Linked DNA regions of Homo sapiens: all the other regions are linked to region 2. Evidence: promoter capture Hi-C in 16 types of primary human blood cells and fetal thymus (Javierre and others, 2016). All regions are on one chromosome and are shown on one strand. Each heading gives the region's core, a stretch centred on a gene start or on the middle of the fragment in contact. The rest is flanking DNA. Distances are from core to core; before and after follow the strand shown.

Region 1 (4,050 bases), core at 140-2,639, 1.2 Mb before region 2:
TCATGAAAAATCTCATTAAAAGAACAATTCATCAAAGGGAACGTCCCATTCCCTTTGAGTTCTGCCCTACATTATAACATGTCTGGGGGTGATATCATTTTCTTTTCTTCCAGTAAGGTTTAGTAACACAATACTTACATTACCATAAACATAAATAAATACAAACAGAACTGCATATTTTAAAACGGACCAAGTTAATTTCTAAGGTTCCCTAGCTCACTCTTAAAAGATGTGATTTAAGGCCAGGTGTGGTGGTTCACACCTGTAATCCCAGCACTTTGGGAGGCTGATGCAGGAGGAACACTTGAGCCCAGGAGTTCGAGACCAGCCTGGGCAACAGAGCAAGATTGCCTCTCCACACACAAAAAAAGTTTTTAATTAGCCAAGCATGGTGACACACCCCTGCAGTCCCAGCTACTCAGGAGGCTTAGGCAGGAGGATTGCTTCAGCCCAGGAATTCGAGGTTACAGTGATCTATGACTGTTCCACTGCACTCCAGCCTGGGCAACAGAGCAAGACCCTGTCTCTCAGAAAGAAAAAAAAAAGATGTGACTCAAGCAGTGTCCCACATATGATCACTTAGGGAAAATAATCTGATTAAAATAACAACATGAAATGGAAAATAAACTACAATAATCTCTCAATATACAAACAACATTGTGCTACCCAACTTTAGTTGGGTCCACATTAGACCCATTCAAAGACTGTGAGAGAGGCTGGGGCGCGGTGGCTCATGCCTGTAGTCTCAGCGCTTTGGGAGGCTGAGGTGGGCGGATCACGAGGTCAGGAGGTCGAGACCATCCTGGCTAATACCGTGAAACTCCATCTCTACTAAAAATACAAAAAACTAGCCAGGCATAAGGCTGAGGCAGGAGAATTGCTTGAACTCGGGAGGTGAAGGTTGCAGTGGGCCGAGATCGTGCCACTGCACTCCAGCCTGGGCGACACAGCAAGACTCCATCTCAAAAAAAAAAAGACTGTGAGGGATTAGCTACTGAGATACAAAAGGACTGCATTCATTTATGAGGCAGTTCCATAGCGCTGACTCAAAAGGATGGCATGACTCCAAGCCTCCAGTATATGTTACATACCAAAAAGGAAAAAGAAATATGAGGCTATGTCATATGTTTGAGCTTGCGGATATTCCCAAGAAAAAGCTTCCAGTTACTTAGAGCTTGCATCTTTTGGGGGATTCCATAATAAATTCTATTATAAACCCAGATTTTTTACAAAGAGCAAATATAAATTTGGTAAGTTAAAGCTTCAAGTGCTTTTTGAAAACTGTCTTGGAAACCAGGAACTAGGTTTGTACATATTTTAATTATATATGCTTTCTTTTTTACTTAAAAGGTTGAAAACCAAATCATTCTTAAATGTAAAAGGCTACATTCTCCTATCGGCACAAACACAAACATATCAAATTCAAATATTTTGCTGGCATCTGAAAACGAGATTAGTATGGACCTAAGTTCTTACTACACAAATGATTTTACAGTGACTCACCATGAGTAAGCTTTCAAAGTCATTTTCTTTAGAATGCCAGTCTTTGTTTAAAAAAAAATTCTAAATCTGTTCCTCATAATTACTACCTTAGAAAATCAGAAGAGGTTTCATACCTGATTCCGCTTATTTTTTACAATGACACAGTTACCTTTGTCAGTTTAAAAAAAAAAAAAAAGTTTACTGAAAGTTAGCTGTTTGGAAATTATACTGCATTTCCTCATTGAGACAATGTTATAAAAGGTAGTAAAAATCCTATAAAACCTAATTAACTCCTAATGTAACTGACGTGTGCCTGGTACCTCAAATTCCTCTTTCGATCCTGGAAAATGTTTCAGTGCACGTTTTAAACACCTTATACTGCAAAAATGTGGTCAGCTGATTTTGTATGAACGTTCCCCGAGAGAAACAAGAGTTGACTCACTGCACACTATTACAAAAGCCTCTTAACCGGTGTCCCAGCCTCTAGTCTCTCCCTCCTAGATTCTATCCTCCACCGTGTTGCCCGTTTTCTTAACAGAAAATGAGATTAGGTCGCACCCCTACTTAAAACCTCCACTGCCCAAAGAACTTCCTACGGGGTGAAGTCCAAACCCCTTAGTTCAGCATAGAAGACTCTTCCCAACTGGTAACAACCTACCTTAGTTTGATCTTCCATCCCTCCCTTTTATAGTCTGCATGAAGACATATTGACATTTTTATCATTTCCTAAAAAGTCATGTTCTTTCATACGCCCCCCGCCCCACCATACTCTTGCAAAAACTTTCCTCTGCTTAGAATGTATCTACTATTCTACTTGAAAAATCACCGATGTAGCCCAGTTCAAATATTATTTTCTCTAAAAATCTTCCCCAACATCTCTCAGATGCGCTTAGCATATTTGGTCACCTTCTGCCCCTCTACAATCAACTGTGTGGTGTTTATAGGAGTTCCATAAACGGTGGCTAAACTTTGAAGGGGCATACACATGCCGAAGTGAGGAGCTGGCCAAAACCACAGTTAAAGACCATCAGGATATTCCACTCACCTAATGCAGGTCGGTAATGACTGACAATTTATATTAACATTTAAAAATACAGTCTTATTTACATTTACAAACACAAAAAAAAATCACAGATTAATAAAACTCCGGATGTATAATCGTCTTCACCTTAAACATCGGTGAGTGTTAACCATCTAGAATACCACCGGAAAAGTAGTTTTAACCAGAAGAAATTTGGCAACTTCCCATTCAAAACATTGTCAGAGTTTCAACATTTCCACACTGGGGCAAATTTACTTAATTTCAAATAAAGCAGCCAAAGATAAGAAAAACAAGTAATTAGTTTCCTGAAGGTCAACAGTCCTGCGTTGAAATCTTCTATCATCACCTTTGAATAACTTTCAATCAATGATTTAGTAAAAACTCCCATTCTCCATCATCCTCTGTCGCTGATAGAGAAAATACAGCCATGCAAACAATTATATCATACAAAATCCAAAATAAACAACTTGTTTCCAGAAAGACGCCAGCGTGCTGACAATCTGCTTCCACTATGTTTGGGCATCTCCAATACAAGTATCTTACATAGTCAAGGGCAGTTTCACAATTCAAAAACGATTTCACACAAATGATTTAATTCCTACAATAATCCTGTGAGTTCAAAAGAGCAGGGATTATCTGTCCGGATTTAACACAGTACGAACCCAATAAAAACACAGATTTTTTAAGAATGGTTTGGCTATAGAAAGGTAGCACATCGTTTACAAAATATTCTTACTACAAAAATGACCCAAGAGAAATGAGCGTCCTCCCACCCACCTTTATTCCACCATTAAATTTAGCTGTGTTGACCCAAGGATACCATGAACGTCAAAATTTCAAATTATAACCTGCAGCAAAAGTTTCATCTCTCAGTCTCTTTCCAAGCGACATTAACTCCACGAGCGAGAGCCAGCTCCCTCCCTGCAGGCGTTTGGAGGACTGAACGCCCGCGGGCGCGCCCAGCCTGCAGGGCTCCGGCCCGCCGAGGTCAGCGCCCGCCCCAGAGCGGGTTTCGGGGCGTCTGGGGGACCCGGGGTCGCGCGAGGCGGCGAGGGATGGGGGGACGCTGGGAACGGCTCCATCGAACAGGACACGGAGGAAGCGGTGCCGGGCAGAGGACCCGGGCCAAGAAGGGCTTGGGGCGCCAAACCCCGCGCCTCGGGTGCGACCCCGGTCCGCACACACCTGGAGCGGCCGCGCCCCCCGACCCCGGGTCCGATCCCCAGGCCGGGCCCCTCCACTCCCAGGCACCACAGGTTCACTCCGAGCGCCCCGTCCCTAGGAAGCAGCCGTCCCAACCGACCCGGGGCGCGGACACCCACCTGGCCGCGCCGCACCGAGGACTGGGCCCACCAGGCCAAGCAACAGCAACCACCGGACACGAAGGGTCCCCGAGGGAAAGCGCGCGCCAGACCCCATCTCGGCCGATTCCGCAGGTTCCTCTCAGCACTCGGTCGCCTCCACCTCCGCCTCTTCCATCATTTTCCAACCCTGCCGGGGCCCCAAGTCTGGCCGGGAAGCGCGCG
Region 2 (4,013 bases), core at 831-3,330:
GGTGTATCATTACACCATAATAACACTGCCCCATTTACTCTAAAAGTGGCCCACTTAGGTAACTAAGTAATTGATTGTTCAATCTGTGAATTAAGAACCAGTGGCATGGCCAGGTGAGCCACACGCCTGTAATCCCTGCACTGTGGGAGGCCGAGGTGGGTGGATCACCTGAAGTTACGAGTTCGAGACCAGCCTGGCCAAAAGGTGAAACCCCATCTCTATTAAAATACTAAAACTTAGCCAGGTGTGGTGGTGGGCATCTGTAATCCGAGCTACTTGGGAAGCTAAGGCAGGAGAATTGCTTGAATCCGGGAGGTGGAGGTTGCAGTGAGCTGAGGCTGTGCCATTGCACTCCAGCCTGGGTGACAGAGTGAGACTCCGTCTCAAAATAAAACAAAAAACAACAGTCTGGCCAACATAATGAAACCCTGTCTCTACTAAAAATACACAAAAAATTAGCCAGGTGTGGTGGTGTGTGCCTGTAATCCCAGCTACTCAGGAGGCTGAGGCAGGAGAATTGCGTGAACCCGGGAGGTGGAGGTTGCGGTGAGCCAAGATCGTGCCACTGCACTCCAGCCTGGGCGACAGAACGAGACTCTGTCTCAAACAAAACAAAACAAAACAAAACAACACAACAAAAAAAAAAAAAAAAAGAAAGAAAAGAACCAGTGGCAGAACTAAGGCTGCGACACAAAAAATTCTGGATTCAGGATCAGACCTATGTGACATCCTCTCACGACCACTATACAAAGAGCGGGGGTTCTATGCGTTCTGCTGCCACCCAATCCACATAGAAACAGTAAGAGAAGAGATTCGTTTATCCTTGCACGATTTAGTCTTCTTGTATCCATCATCCCCTGAAGTTTTCACAGAATCACAGTGTTCTCAAGGACGTGACGGAGTCAGATCAATTAGAAAAATGTCTCCTCTTCCTTCCTTCCACAGCGATGCGTAACCAGCCTCGTTTGAGTCCAAGTCGTGACTACTGGGAGTATGCTGATGATTGACGCTTTCCAGAGAGTTACCCGAACAGGCAGCCCATCTGCCTGAGAGTTTCCCTGAGAGAACCTCCAAGGTGATGTTTATTAGGGGAAGCCCTAGATTTTTCTTGGAGAATCACCGAGAATCACAGAATATTAACATCAGAAGAGATCTCAGAGCTTTCAGAGCTGAGGGCCGGAATAGTTACCTGACTTGTTCAAGGTAACGTCTAAGGAATAGTCAAAGAAAGACTATAATACAGGTCTTGTCTTCAGCCAGCATAAATGCTCGATCAGAGAAACCTGTGACCTCTCTGTTAAGGTCCGTCTCATTCCACACCATTCAGCTTAAACTTGCACTGAGGTGGGCAGATTTTGATTCTTGGTCTAATCAAAGTCCAAGAGGATGTAATATATATATACACAAAAGACGAAAGCTCCCCTTAACCGGCTTGGGATTGGACTTCTCCCTCCTGCCCCATAAACAAGTGCCGCTCTGATGCCAGCGAAGTCCGGCCAGTCCACCCTCACCTCGGCCTCCGGGCGGCACTGGCATTTCTTGGGCACTTAGCAGGTGAGACGCTGCCACACACGCGATCTCGGGCGTCTCTGGCCTCCGCGGGGTGCTCTTGTACCCCCGTCTCCCCTTACCATCCGTGGGCACAGGCCTGGCCCCCCTCGCATCCGCCAAGGCTATCGACCCCGAAACGACGCGGTGCGCAAGTGGCCACGACACCTAGGCACTAAGTCATTTTCCCGAGGTAGCGGTACCCTCTGCTCCAACGAAGCCAATCTCCAGAAAACCTAACAGACTCAAGGTAAGGAGGCTGGGGAAACCCTTCGCTAGCCTTTCGGTGGCCCTAGGCGGCCGACCAGTCCCGCCTCTCTGGGAGACCCCTCTGCGTCACCGTGACGACCCATTCCCACGCAGGTGTCCCTCTTCTCAAGGCGGCCGCCCACCGTCCCCACGCAGCCTCCTTCCTCACCCGCGGCCGCCGCGCCACAGCCTGCTGCACGCGCTCGTTCACCGCCCGCAATGCGCACCCGACTCCCAGCTCGGCCGACATGCTGCCAGCTCTCCACATCCCCCGGGGACCGACGCCGAGCCCCAGGCCCCCGGCAGCCCGTGGCTCACACCATCTTCCGGTTCCGCCCAGCTTGCGCCGTGTGAACCAATCATTGCTCATCATTGAGTCGTCTCACCCAATCAACACCCGTGCAGCGTGGAGGCCCGCCCCCAGGCGGCGGCCATCTTGGGGAGGTCACCCGCGAACCTGGAAATGGAGCCTAGGGGCTGAGGTTTTGCGCGCCTGGTTCCAAGGGCCACTCCCCGTGTGCTCTCCTCTTTCCTGCGCCTCAGCCGCTGCCGTCCCCCCACCCCCAAGGGACTTTTGTGAGGCAGAAACGCATCCTATACTCGGGGGATCCTGTTTCCTTTCAAAACGCCTTTCCAGGCTTGCCCGTTCCCGGCTTTCTGGGCGCGGGGACCAGAATTAGAAGCCACTGGGGCGGGAGCCAGGGCTTTTCTCTGTCAGATGGTTCTTGCGAGGAACCCCTAAGCGATACGAAAGGAAACTCTTCTTTCTTCTTTTCCCTAAAGACATGGCGTGATTCAAACGTATCGTGATTTTTGTCATCTTTCAGACCACTGCTGTCCAAGAGAAATATAACGCCATCCAACTGTGTAATTTGGAAGTTTCTCATAGGCACATAAGCTTAAAAATTTTAATGATATACTTTATTTAATCCAATATATCCAAAGTAAGATTTCAACATGCAATCAATAGAAAAACTAAATGCGATATTTTAATTCTTTTGAAAATCGTATGTGTTTCTGAAACCCGGTGTAGTGTTGACTTGCATATGTCTCAATTCGGGCCATCCCTATTTCGAGAGGTTAGCGGCCACCTGCGGCCAGTGCTGTCTCATCAGGGGACACAGGCAGCATGATTATTACTATTATTATTATTGAGACAGTCTCGCTCTGTCACCCAGGCTGGAGTGCGGTGGCCCGATCTGGGCTCACTGCAACCTCCACCTCCCGGGTTCAAGCGATTCTCCTGCCTCAGCCTCCCCAGTAGCTGGGACTACAGGTGCGAGCCACCGCGCCCAGCCCACAGGCAGCTTTAGATGGTCTAGCAGGAGCTCAGCACATTCAGTTAGATTCTTTTTTTGAGATGGGGTCTCGCTATGTTGCCCAGATTATCTGGGACTCGTGGGCCCAAGCAATCCTCCCACCTCCGCCTCACAGAATAGCTGGGACTACAAACGGGCACCACAACGCCCTGAGTTTGATTCTTGAGTCCCCTTCTGTGGGCAATATGGTTATAAACTTGATGAGGAGCCAGGCCATACAAATAATAATACAGAATGCTACATAGTCAGGTGGTGAAATAGTAGGTGCTACGGGCAAGGAGAAGGAGATCAATTTTGTTAAGGAAAGCACTCTTGGCTGCAATTTCTGTTGAAAGTTTCTCAAACATTAATTCAACTTAATGAAGTGGGATGCTATTATATTAGAGAAATGGCTAATGTTTGTTCTTCAGGTGGTCTTGTCTTGAGGTGATGGGGTTTATTAGAGCTTTCCGGAAAGAAGGGGCAATATTCTTACTCTCTCCTCTCACAGTTTTTCCCCAGACTCCCAGGAACAGAGATGGAATTTCACATCTTCTGCTCTGGGAAAGTCACATTAGGCAGAACCTCAGATCCTTAAAATAAGGGACTTCTTTTTGGGAAGTCTCTGGTCATTTACCCTGGTACACATTAACTGGGTTATCTGCAAACTAGGACTGCCAACATTAGGAGTAATTGTGTTCAGATAAAATGTCTCTAGACTTGATACATCTGTACTCCAACCAAAATGATAAAAAAATTTAAAATGACCAGAATGGCCCTTTGTGGTGTGAGCATAATAGATGCTTGCTGTAGAGACACAGGTGGGAAGGAGCGAGCCAGCAGTGAGTGATGGGGAGGACAGAGGGGATCATGGTGATGGGATGTGTAGAGGAAGGATTGGGTGAGATGAAACACTTC
Region 3 (4,358 bases), core at 293-2,792, 1.1 Mb before region 2:
GCTTCTCAAAACAAGTGGGGGGCTTACAAGTCCTGTAAGCTCGCCAAAGACAGGGTCCAGCCCTCCAGAGGTAAAGGAAAAAGAAAAAATAAAGACAGGGGTTGTGTTTTGTTCATCACTGCCTTGCATGTATAATACATGTCAACTGAATGCAACTGAAATAGAAAGCAAAAACTTCTATTCTTTCAAGATCTTTTGCTTTGCTGTTTCGGAAGGCTTCGCAACCAAAGAAAAAAAATGACAAAAGAAGGGAAAATGGGACTTGGTCAGATAGATTAAGAACACCATTAGTGCAATCTTGGGACTTCAGCCCCAAGTGCATCTACAGCTCAGCCTTCAGAGCCCCCAGAGCCACAGCTGGCTTTCTGGTGGGGTGCTCTCCCCTCCCTCTTCTCTGCCGTTTACTGTCCTCTGAAAACCCCACTTGGAGCCCTAAAGAAAGAAAGGGGGCGGGCAGGAAGAAGGAATGAGAAGGGGAAGATACATCCTGAACCTGCGTTCACCAAGAAGGAAGGAAGCCAAACCCTAAGGCTAGGGCCTGGGGGCAGGGCTGGCCCCGGGGAGGAGATGTGAGGGTGCTCCGGCCGCAGCGGGCCCTGCGCCCCTCTCTGGGCGTGCAGGGACACTTTTCCCTTCTAAACGGCCTAGCTTCCCACCACCCCCCCCCACACCCTTCTTTTCTCTTTCTTTTTAAAAAAATTTTGGTGAAATCGTCTTTAGGACTGGAGGAGAAAAGGGAAGCGTGTAAGGTGAGGAAGAAGTTGGTGAGAGAGAGAACGACAGCTCCCCTCGAGGGCTCACCCAACCTGGCACCGAACCTGCATTTTAGGGCAGTCCTTTTCACTGTCTGGAGTTCCAGAAGCCCGAAGTCCAGGCTGCACCCAGAGGAAAGGACAGGAGTCCCTAGGGGAGCCTTCTAGGCCTGTCATTTAATAAGGTAGTCGGGGGAGTGAAAGAGGAGTCTCCATGGCCCAATCCGTACCCAAGGGACTTGCCTGGGGACGTTCTCTGCTCTCCTCCCCTCCCGCAGCCCGGGCAGTCGTTGCGGGGTCGGTGCCCCAGCGCCAGAACCCGCAGAGAAGTTTCGCTGCTGCAAACGTGAGAAAATGCAGCTCAGCAGAACTCCCGCCCCCACCCTCTCCGCGGCCCCACCCCCCGCAGCCCGACCCCTGGCGGCGGCGACCTTGGCCACCCGGGGCACTTGGAGGAGGGGCTGCCCTCGGGGCTCTCCCAGAGGGTTGGAGGAGGCCTCCAGGGTCTGCGGCCACCTCCCCTCGCCTGTCAGCCACTAGGACCGGCGTATTCAGCCCTGCGCGCGCGCCCCTCGCGCCCCTAGGCCGCCAGGCCTCCGCCGGGGCGCCCCCTGCACCCCCAGCCCCGCCAGCCCCCGCGCGCCCCTCTGCGCCTCTCCACTCCCGAGCCCGCGAGGGCGCCCAACTTACCCCCCCGTGCAGGGGCCGGGGCTCGGGCGGGGCGCGTTACATCGGGCGGGGTCGCCCCTCCGGCCGCCGGGTCCGCCGCGCTCCAGGGATTTCTGGGTCTGCCTGCCAAACTCTCCGCGCCTCTCGCTCCCCTCGCTCTGGTCTCCCCCAGTGCCCCCTCCTTCTCTCCCGTCCCTCGGCTCTTTTTTCCGGGTTAATTACGTTTCGCATTAAAGCAAAACCCAGCCCCGGATGTGAGTACAATGCTCCGCGGAGCCCGCCGGGGAGGGAGAGGGGTGCCGGGGCGCCGCGGGCTGGGAGGGGGTGCGGCCGGGCGCCGGGGCCGCGCGGGGGAGGCGGGGGCGGGGCGCCCGGAGGCTGCGCCCGAGGCCGCCCGCGTTCCGCGCCTGGCAGGTGGGACCTGCGCGCCGAGACTGCCCCGCGGGGAGGCCCGGCCCCGACGCTCGCTCGGGCAGCAGGTGTCCGGGCAGGGGGCGTCCTCGCAGGAGGAGGCGAGCTGGAGCGCGAGCTCCCTCAAGAACCCCATTTCCTCCTCCCAGAGCCCCACCCAGCGACCTCAGCTGGGCCTCCTTCGGATCCCGAGCCCTTAGCCTTTGGGGACCGAGGAGTTGGGGTAAGGGTTAGGGTCCCAAGAAGAGTGGCTTCTTCAGGTTGTCCTAAATGTGCCCTAAGAGACCAGTGGGCGGGAACGCTCTAACCAGGGTTATAAGGACTTTAATTTCTTTATTTTATTTTATTTTTTAATCAAGACAGGGTCTGGCTCTGTCGCCCAGGCTGGAGTGCGGTGGCGCAGTCATAGCTCACTGCAGCCTCGACCTCCTGGGTCCAGCGATCCTTCTGCCCCAGCCTCCCGAGTAGCTGGGACCACAGGCGCCTACACCGTGCCCGTTGGGACTTTTTCGGTGTGATGCGAAGACTCCCTTCCTGCCCCCAGAGCATGAGGGTGCTCTGGGAAAAAATGGGAAACAGACAAGCATGTGTTACTACGTAAACCTCGCCAAGAGGAACTAAGAGAGCTGCTGTGCGCGGGTCCCGCCCCTGCGCTATCTCATTTGATCCACGCCGCAACCTATGGGTACCAGTCCGGTTCACGGTGAGGAAACCGAGACTCAGACTTGTGAAGTAATTTGCCCTGGGTACCCAGTTAGTAAACGGCAGGTCTGTCAGGTTCTGACTCCGGCCTCCCACGTCGGGAGAGAGACATTTGAATATGCATCAAGTCAGGTGGACAACATCCGAAACATGAAAATGTAGAAGATTCGCGCGGGCCTGCGGGGCCGTGCGCCGGTGTCTGGCGATCCTAATGCAAACGTTGTTAATCAGGTGTAAATCCTACGAGGCTTTGAAAGAGGCAGGCATAAGAAGACGCTGAGGTTCTCCAGGACAAGGACTGGATTTGCAGGAAGGAGGGAGAGGCTGGGGCACATTCCCGGTGTTAACAGAGGAAAGGCGGCCTCTTATGTCTCCACGACCGACCGGAGGCCACAAGGCCTGGGGAGGGGGGCTCGGGCCGATGAGCCAGGACCGAGGGAGAAGGACAGCCCGCCCCACACACCCCGAAAGCACCAGTGATGAAACCACACAAGTTTCCTCTTCCATTTTGATTGCCAAAGCAAAAATGAACACCGCCGGTGTCTCAGGTGTGAAAAAAGACTGTTTGCTTTAGAGCATTTTGCTTTCAATGAGGAAGAAAAGGGGGACGATGGGCAAAACACACACACACACACACACACACACACACACACACACACACACACACATTTCCCTTGAAATAAATACATCAATGTCTTTTTTTTCCCCGTTCATGGAGGGTTTTGCCACTCATCTGTAAGTTTCAGGCACCAGAACAAACTGAAGAGCATCTCCTCTGGAAGCAAGGAACCTGGATTTGAAGCCCAGCTCTGCCGTTTACTGGCTTTGACCCCTGGGCAAGTTACTTAACTTCTCAATGCCTCTGTTAGGAAAAGTCAGTGAGTTAACATTTGTGAAGTGTTGAGATTCCTGTCGAACGTGAAGTAGGTGCTACGTAAATGTTTTTTAAATTTAAAAATTAGATGATCATTTTCAGTATGAAAAGCAACACAATTCCATCCAGCTCCAAGCAAATCCGACTGGAACTGAGGGTTTCCAGCATGAGCAATGAGGTAAATTTCTCAGATTTCAGGGTATGGTTCATATTAAACTCATAAAACTCTACTCCCCGTGGGGCTGCCTGAGTCACTCCATCACAGAGCCACAAGTATTTCCTGAGCACTACTGTTTTGGATGCTGGGAGGCAAAGAGAAGCAGAAGGCCTTGGGTGGCAAGAGAATACAGGTGTCTCTAGAAGGCTGAAGCAGGCTTGTGCCCTGGGAATGGCACAGAGAGTAAGTGCTGTCAACTTTTAGAAGGACAAGATATAGCCAGGGGCAGTGGCTCACGACCTGTAATCCCAGCACTTTGGAAAACCAAGGCAGGAGGATCCCTTGAGTCCAGGAGTTCAAGACCAGCCTGGACAACTAGGGAAACTTCATCTCTACAAAAAATAAAAAATATTAAATTAGCCAGGTATGCACCTGTGGTCCCAGCTACTCTAAAGGTTGAAATGGGAGGGTCACTTGAACCCAGGATTTTGAGGCTGCAGTGAGCCATTATCATGCCACTGCATTCCAACCTGAGTGACAGAGTGAGAACCTGTCTCAGAAAAAAAATAAATAAAAAAGAGGGAAATGTGTCTCTGAATGGGGGATGGGGGGTGGGGGGGGACGGTGGGGGAGCTCAAGAAGGGAGTGGGCTTTGAAATGGGACTTAGATGGATACAGTTTGACACCAGTGGGAGGAGGCCAGGAACATGTTGGGCTGAGGGAAGGTCATCATCAGTGCACTCGGGGAGATGCTCATACTTCACTGGAGCCCCATTTACTGCTACACTTGTCC
Region 4 (3,932 bases), core at 1,325-3,824, 1.0 Mb before region 2:
AGTTCATTGCAGACCAATTACATCACTTCCCCTTTGCAAATATGACAAATAGCCAGGCCACATCAGGCTCTCCCCTGGGCCTTCCCTGAACATGCAGGCCTAGACTAATGGCACCTCACGCCCACAGTTCATTTGTTCAGCAGGTATAACCTTGCACCTTTTCATTCTTAAAGCCATTTTCCCAAATTACTTAAACTCTGTATTTTTACTGAAATTGTAATAAGTATAGATGTAGGTTGACATTTTTTTTCTGTACAAGATAGTAAATATGTTAGACTTTTGCCAGACATTTGGTCTCTGTTCCAAGTACTCAACCCAGCTATTGTAGAGCAAAAGCAGCCATAGACAATACATGAATGAATGAGTATGGCTGTATTCCAATAACTTTATTTATGGGGATGACAGTGGTGGTTCAAACCTGAAATCCCAGCATTTTGGGAGGCTGAGGTGGGAGGATCACTTACTTGAGCCCTGGAGCTCAAGATCAGCCTGGGCAACATAGCAAGACCCCATATCTACCAAAATATATATTTCATATATATATAACTTGATGGGCCCTGAAATTTTGTTTTGTTTTTTTTTAAGAACTACTTTATTGAGATATAATTCACAAACCATACAGTCCACCCTTTAAAATATATGATGCAATGGTTTTTAGTAAATTCACATAATCGTGTGACCATTGATGGGCCCTGAAATTTGGATTTCACATTATTTTCACACATCACCATTAAACCATCAAAAAATGTAAAACTCATTCTTCTGTTCAGGGCCATGCAAAAAAACAGGACAGGCAGGGCTTGGTCTATGAGTCACAGTTTGCTGATTCTGATCGAGACTACCAAAATTGTGTCAACAAACAACTTGGCATTCCCTCACAGGCCTGAGGCAGTAAATATCTGTGCACAGATCCCATTTATCTCTTTTCTTCTATTCTGGGGAAAAGTCCAGAGAACTACAGTTTGTGTTTGAAATACCTAGGCATTTAATTAACACATCAAACTGGAGAGGTTTAACGAGTTGTTCCAAGGGTGATGTGAGAGCTTCTACACTAATTAAGATTCTCTTTCTCAGAGAGAGGTAACAATCTGTAGATAAAGGTGTGTGTGTTTGGGGAAGGGGGGCTATGTTGGTGAAGGAGAAACTCAAGGGGCAGAGGGCACCCACTGCAGTTTTTGTGACTGAAACAGCTACACAAAGCCACAACCCCTAAGTCCTCCATAAACACACATGCAAACACAAAAGCCAGGCATGGTAGCTCACGCCTGTAATCCCAGGACTTTGGGAGGGTGAGGCAGGAGAATCCCTTTAGGCCAGGAGTTCGAGATCAGCCTAGGCAACATAGCAAGACCCTATCTCTACAAAAAATAAAAAAACTGGCCAGGCGTGGTGGCTCACGCCTGTAATCCCAGCACTTTGGGAGGCCAAGGCGGGCGGATCACGAGGTCAGGAGATCGAGACCATCCTGGCTAACACGGTGAAACCCCGTCTCTACTAAAAATACAAAAAATTAGCTGGGCGTAGTGGTGGGCGCCTGTGGTCCTAGCTACTTGGGAGGCTGAGGCAGAAGAATGGCGTGAACCCAGGAGGCGGAGCTTGCAGTGAGCCGAGATCGCACCACTGCATTTCAGCCAGGGCAACAGAGCGAGACTCTATCTCAAAAAACAAAACAAAACAAAAAATTAGCCAGGCATGGTAGTGTGTGCCTATAGTCCCAGCTACTCAGGAGGCTGAGGCAGGAGGATCATCTGAGCCCAGGAGTTGGAGGCTGCAGTAAGCTATGATCATACTACTGCACTCCAGTCTAGACATAGATCCTGTCTCAAAGCAAAACAAAACAGAGGATGAACTTGAGATTGTACCTCCTCAAAAGTCCATTCCTAGAGGATGTTTCTTCACCAATATATTTCCCAGCAAAGAGAAAGACCACCACAACAGCAGCAGCATTAAACAACTTTAGTGGGAGAAAACAGACAGATAGCAAATACAGACCAGCCCAAGCTTTACAGCTACCAGTCTGGTTATTTCCAGGAAATATCTTTAGCTAGAGTTTTATTTTACCAGTAAGCCTAAAACCTGCTTCTATATGTGGCTTCAAAAAAAATCTACAACCTTATCCGCCACTTAACTCCTGGCATACAACTCTTAGGAAGAGTCATTATAGAGTTTAGATACTGCAAGTTCCTAAAGCAGTTCCAGTATAAGAAAAGTCATTTCAAAATAGTCTTAGATGTTTCCCTGAGTTCAAAGAACTATACAGAAGTCAGCACAGGAGCCATGGGTATGGTAAATGTAGCCCACACGTTTGAGGGCCATTATGTACCAGGAAGCCAGAATGTTTACATATTTCAACTCCAACTCCTGACTAACTCCTCGTAAATCATTCTTCCAGAATGATTTAGTCTTATATAATTTATAACTGCGGTCCAACCATGTCTTGGAACCACAAAAGTATGAAAGACTATCTTTACCAGGAACAAAACAATCAATAATTTTGGGAGAAAGGGAACTTATCCAGTCCCAGAAATTAAACTTCAATATGAAATGACTCTGAAGGGCTTTCTGCCCACTGAAATCCTCTCCAGGCAGACCTGTGCTCTGGCTGTCTTTGCACATTTGCTGTGTATGTGTGACAAGGCCATTGGCGGTACTCTGGACTAGCTCCGGATGTTGCACCCAAGGACCCTGGAAGTCAGGGTACGACCAGGTTGATGAGCAATCATCCTATTGTTTAAAGACCCTAAACTGAAAGCCTTCATAATATGCAGGGTTGTTTCCTGGACTGGACACTCCTCTACCCCTACAATTACAGTCTGCATTCATGAACTACCCCATAGAGCCTTCATGATCCATAAACATTTAAAAGTTTTCCTTTTAGAGAGAATGAAAAAAATGTGAGAGTCACTGGTACAGGAAGGACCAAACAATTGGGTCTCTGTGGTTTTGGGGGCCTAGGTCATCCAGGCCTCTATTCAATTGGCAAAGAATCTGGCGGGATGAATCAGTCTAGCAGCTGACAAAACGATGAGGAAGGGCCGCCCAAGCTGATGGCAATTCAAAAAGGCTTTCAAACAGCTCCTTAACATGTGTCTTATGAGCTTTATTTAAATTTGATGGAAAGGCCACCAAATAGTTCTTTCAAGCTTCAAAATCTCCCTTCTGATCTGCCAATCTTTACGGAAGAAAAGGGAAGCTATGAGGAATAAGTGTTATCTTCATCACTGAGAGTGCTACACAGCTATGCGTCGCACACAAATTCTCCAGTATATAAGCTTGCCTATTCCCATGTTGTCCCTGCCTAGAACAATGGCAAAATGCAGCCTAGGGCAAGTTGAGGGTATTGCTGAATTCTCAGCTGGGTAAGCACAGCATGGAGCTATCAATTTAAAGCAAAACCAAATCAGCTTTTTGCTGATGTCATTTTACCAATAATTCCAGCTCCATCATGCAGTCTATTACCAGAGTAACTTGACTTCCCTAGGCAACCTACGAAGAAGTTGCTAAGCAATAAAAATACTTATTAGGGAGAGGAGAAAGTCACAATCAGCACAAAGTTTAGGTAGCTAGATAACTGAAAGCTGGCGCTGCCACTTCAGGGTGACAGTGCCAGATACTGGAACAGAGAAACCACATAAAAAGGACTTCCATCCTAGAGTCCCTTCTCCACACAGCAGCCCAGGGAGCCTTTTACAAAAGAAGCTGAATCACAATCCCTCTGTTCAAAGCTCTCTGTTGTGGGCTGAATTATGTCTCTCAAAATGATATGTTAAAGTCCCAACTCCTAGTACCTATGAATGTGACCTTATCTAGAAATAGTATCTCTGAAGATGTTACCAAGTTAAGATGAGGTCAAACTGGATTAGGGTGGGCCCTAACTTCAACGACTGGTGTCCTCACAGGAAGGGCACGGTAAGACAGATACATAGGGAGAA

Evidence for each region. The method cuts DNA at HindIII sites, captures the fragments that hold promoters and counts their contacts. A CHiCAGO score of 5 or more calls a contact.
Region 1: a contact is called between a fragment that was not itself captured here and the fragment with the promoter of PLPBP in region 2, in 1 of 17 cell types (total CD8 T cells). The highest score is 5.3, in total CD8 T cells.
Region 3: a contact is called between the fragment with the promoter of PLEKHA2 here and the fragment with the promoter of PLPBP in region 2, in 8 of 17 cell types (naive CD8 T cells, non-activated CD4 T cells, total CD8 T cells and 5 more). The highest score is 10.2, in naive CD8 T cells.
Region 4: a fragment that was not itself captured here is called in contact with the fragment with the promoter of PLPBP in region 2 in 1 of 17 cell types (total CD8 T cells); the score reaches 5.3 in total CD8 T cells.

Annotation. Positions count from the first base shown.
Region 1 is chr8:38,996,957-39,001,006 of GRCh38, reverse strand. ADAM9 (ADAM metallopeptidase domain 9) reads right to left here and starts at 4,034. Exons shown (of 22, transcript NM_003816.3): 1 at 3,847-4,034. The coding sequence starts at 3,943. It also overlaps a transcript of TM2D2 not described here. RefSeq lists a silencer at 3,398-3,827 and an enhancer at 3,838-4,050. The HindIII fragment of the contact is 252 bases long and covers 1,264-1,515 here.
Region 2 is chr8:37,760,712-37,764,724 of GRCh38, reverse strand. It overlaps PLPBP (pyridoxal phosphate binding protein), which reads right to left and starts at 2,080. Exons shown (of 8, transcript NM_007198.4): 1 at 1,967-2,080. The coding sequence starts at 2,065. LOC124901934 (a long non-coding RNA gene) reads left to right here and starts at 1,461. Exons shown (of 2, transcript XR_007060889.1): 1 at 1,461-1,798; 2 at 1,912-4,013. RefSeq lists enhancers at 1,652-1,711, 2,020-2,314, 1,892-2,351, 2,452-2,531 and a silencer at 2,072-2,392. The HindIII fragment of the contact is 3,991 bases long and covers 1-2,697 here.
Region 3 is chr8:38,898,530-38,902,887 of GRCh38, reverse strand. PLEKHA2 (pleckstrin homology domain containing A2) reads right to left here and starts at 1,542. Exons shown (of 12, transcript NM_021623.2): 1 at 1,443-1,542. It overlaps LOC124901937 (a long non-coding RNA gene), which reads left to right and starts at 1,443. Exons shown (of 2, transcript XR_007060893.1): 1 at 1,443-1,675; 2 at 2,192-3,638. RefSeq lists silencers at 871-1,540, 1,621-2,030 and enhancers at 2,631-2,880, 2,941-3,130. The HindIII fragment of the contact is 6,068 bases long and covers 1-4,358 here.
Region 4 is chr8:38,790,211-38,794,142 of GRCh38, reverse strand. The region is part of intron 2 of TACC1 (transforming acidic coiled-coil containing protein 1); the gene reads right to left. Among named protein-coding and RNA genes, the nearest start is that of TACC1, 4.9 kb to the right of the region's middle. RefSeq lists an enhancer at 1-172. The HindIII fragment of the contact is 1,142 bases long and covers 2,004-3,145 here.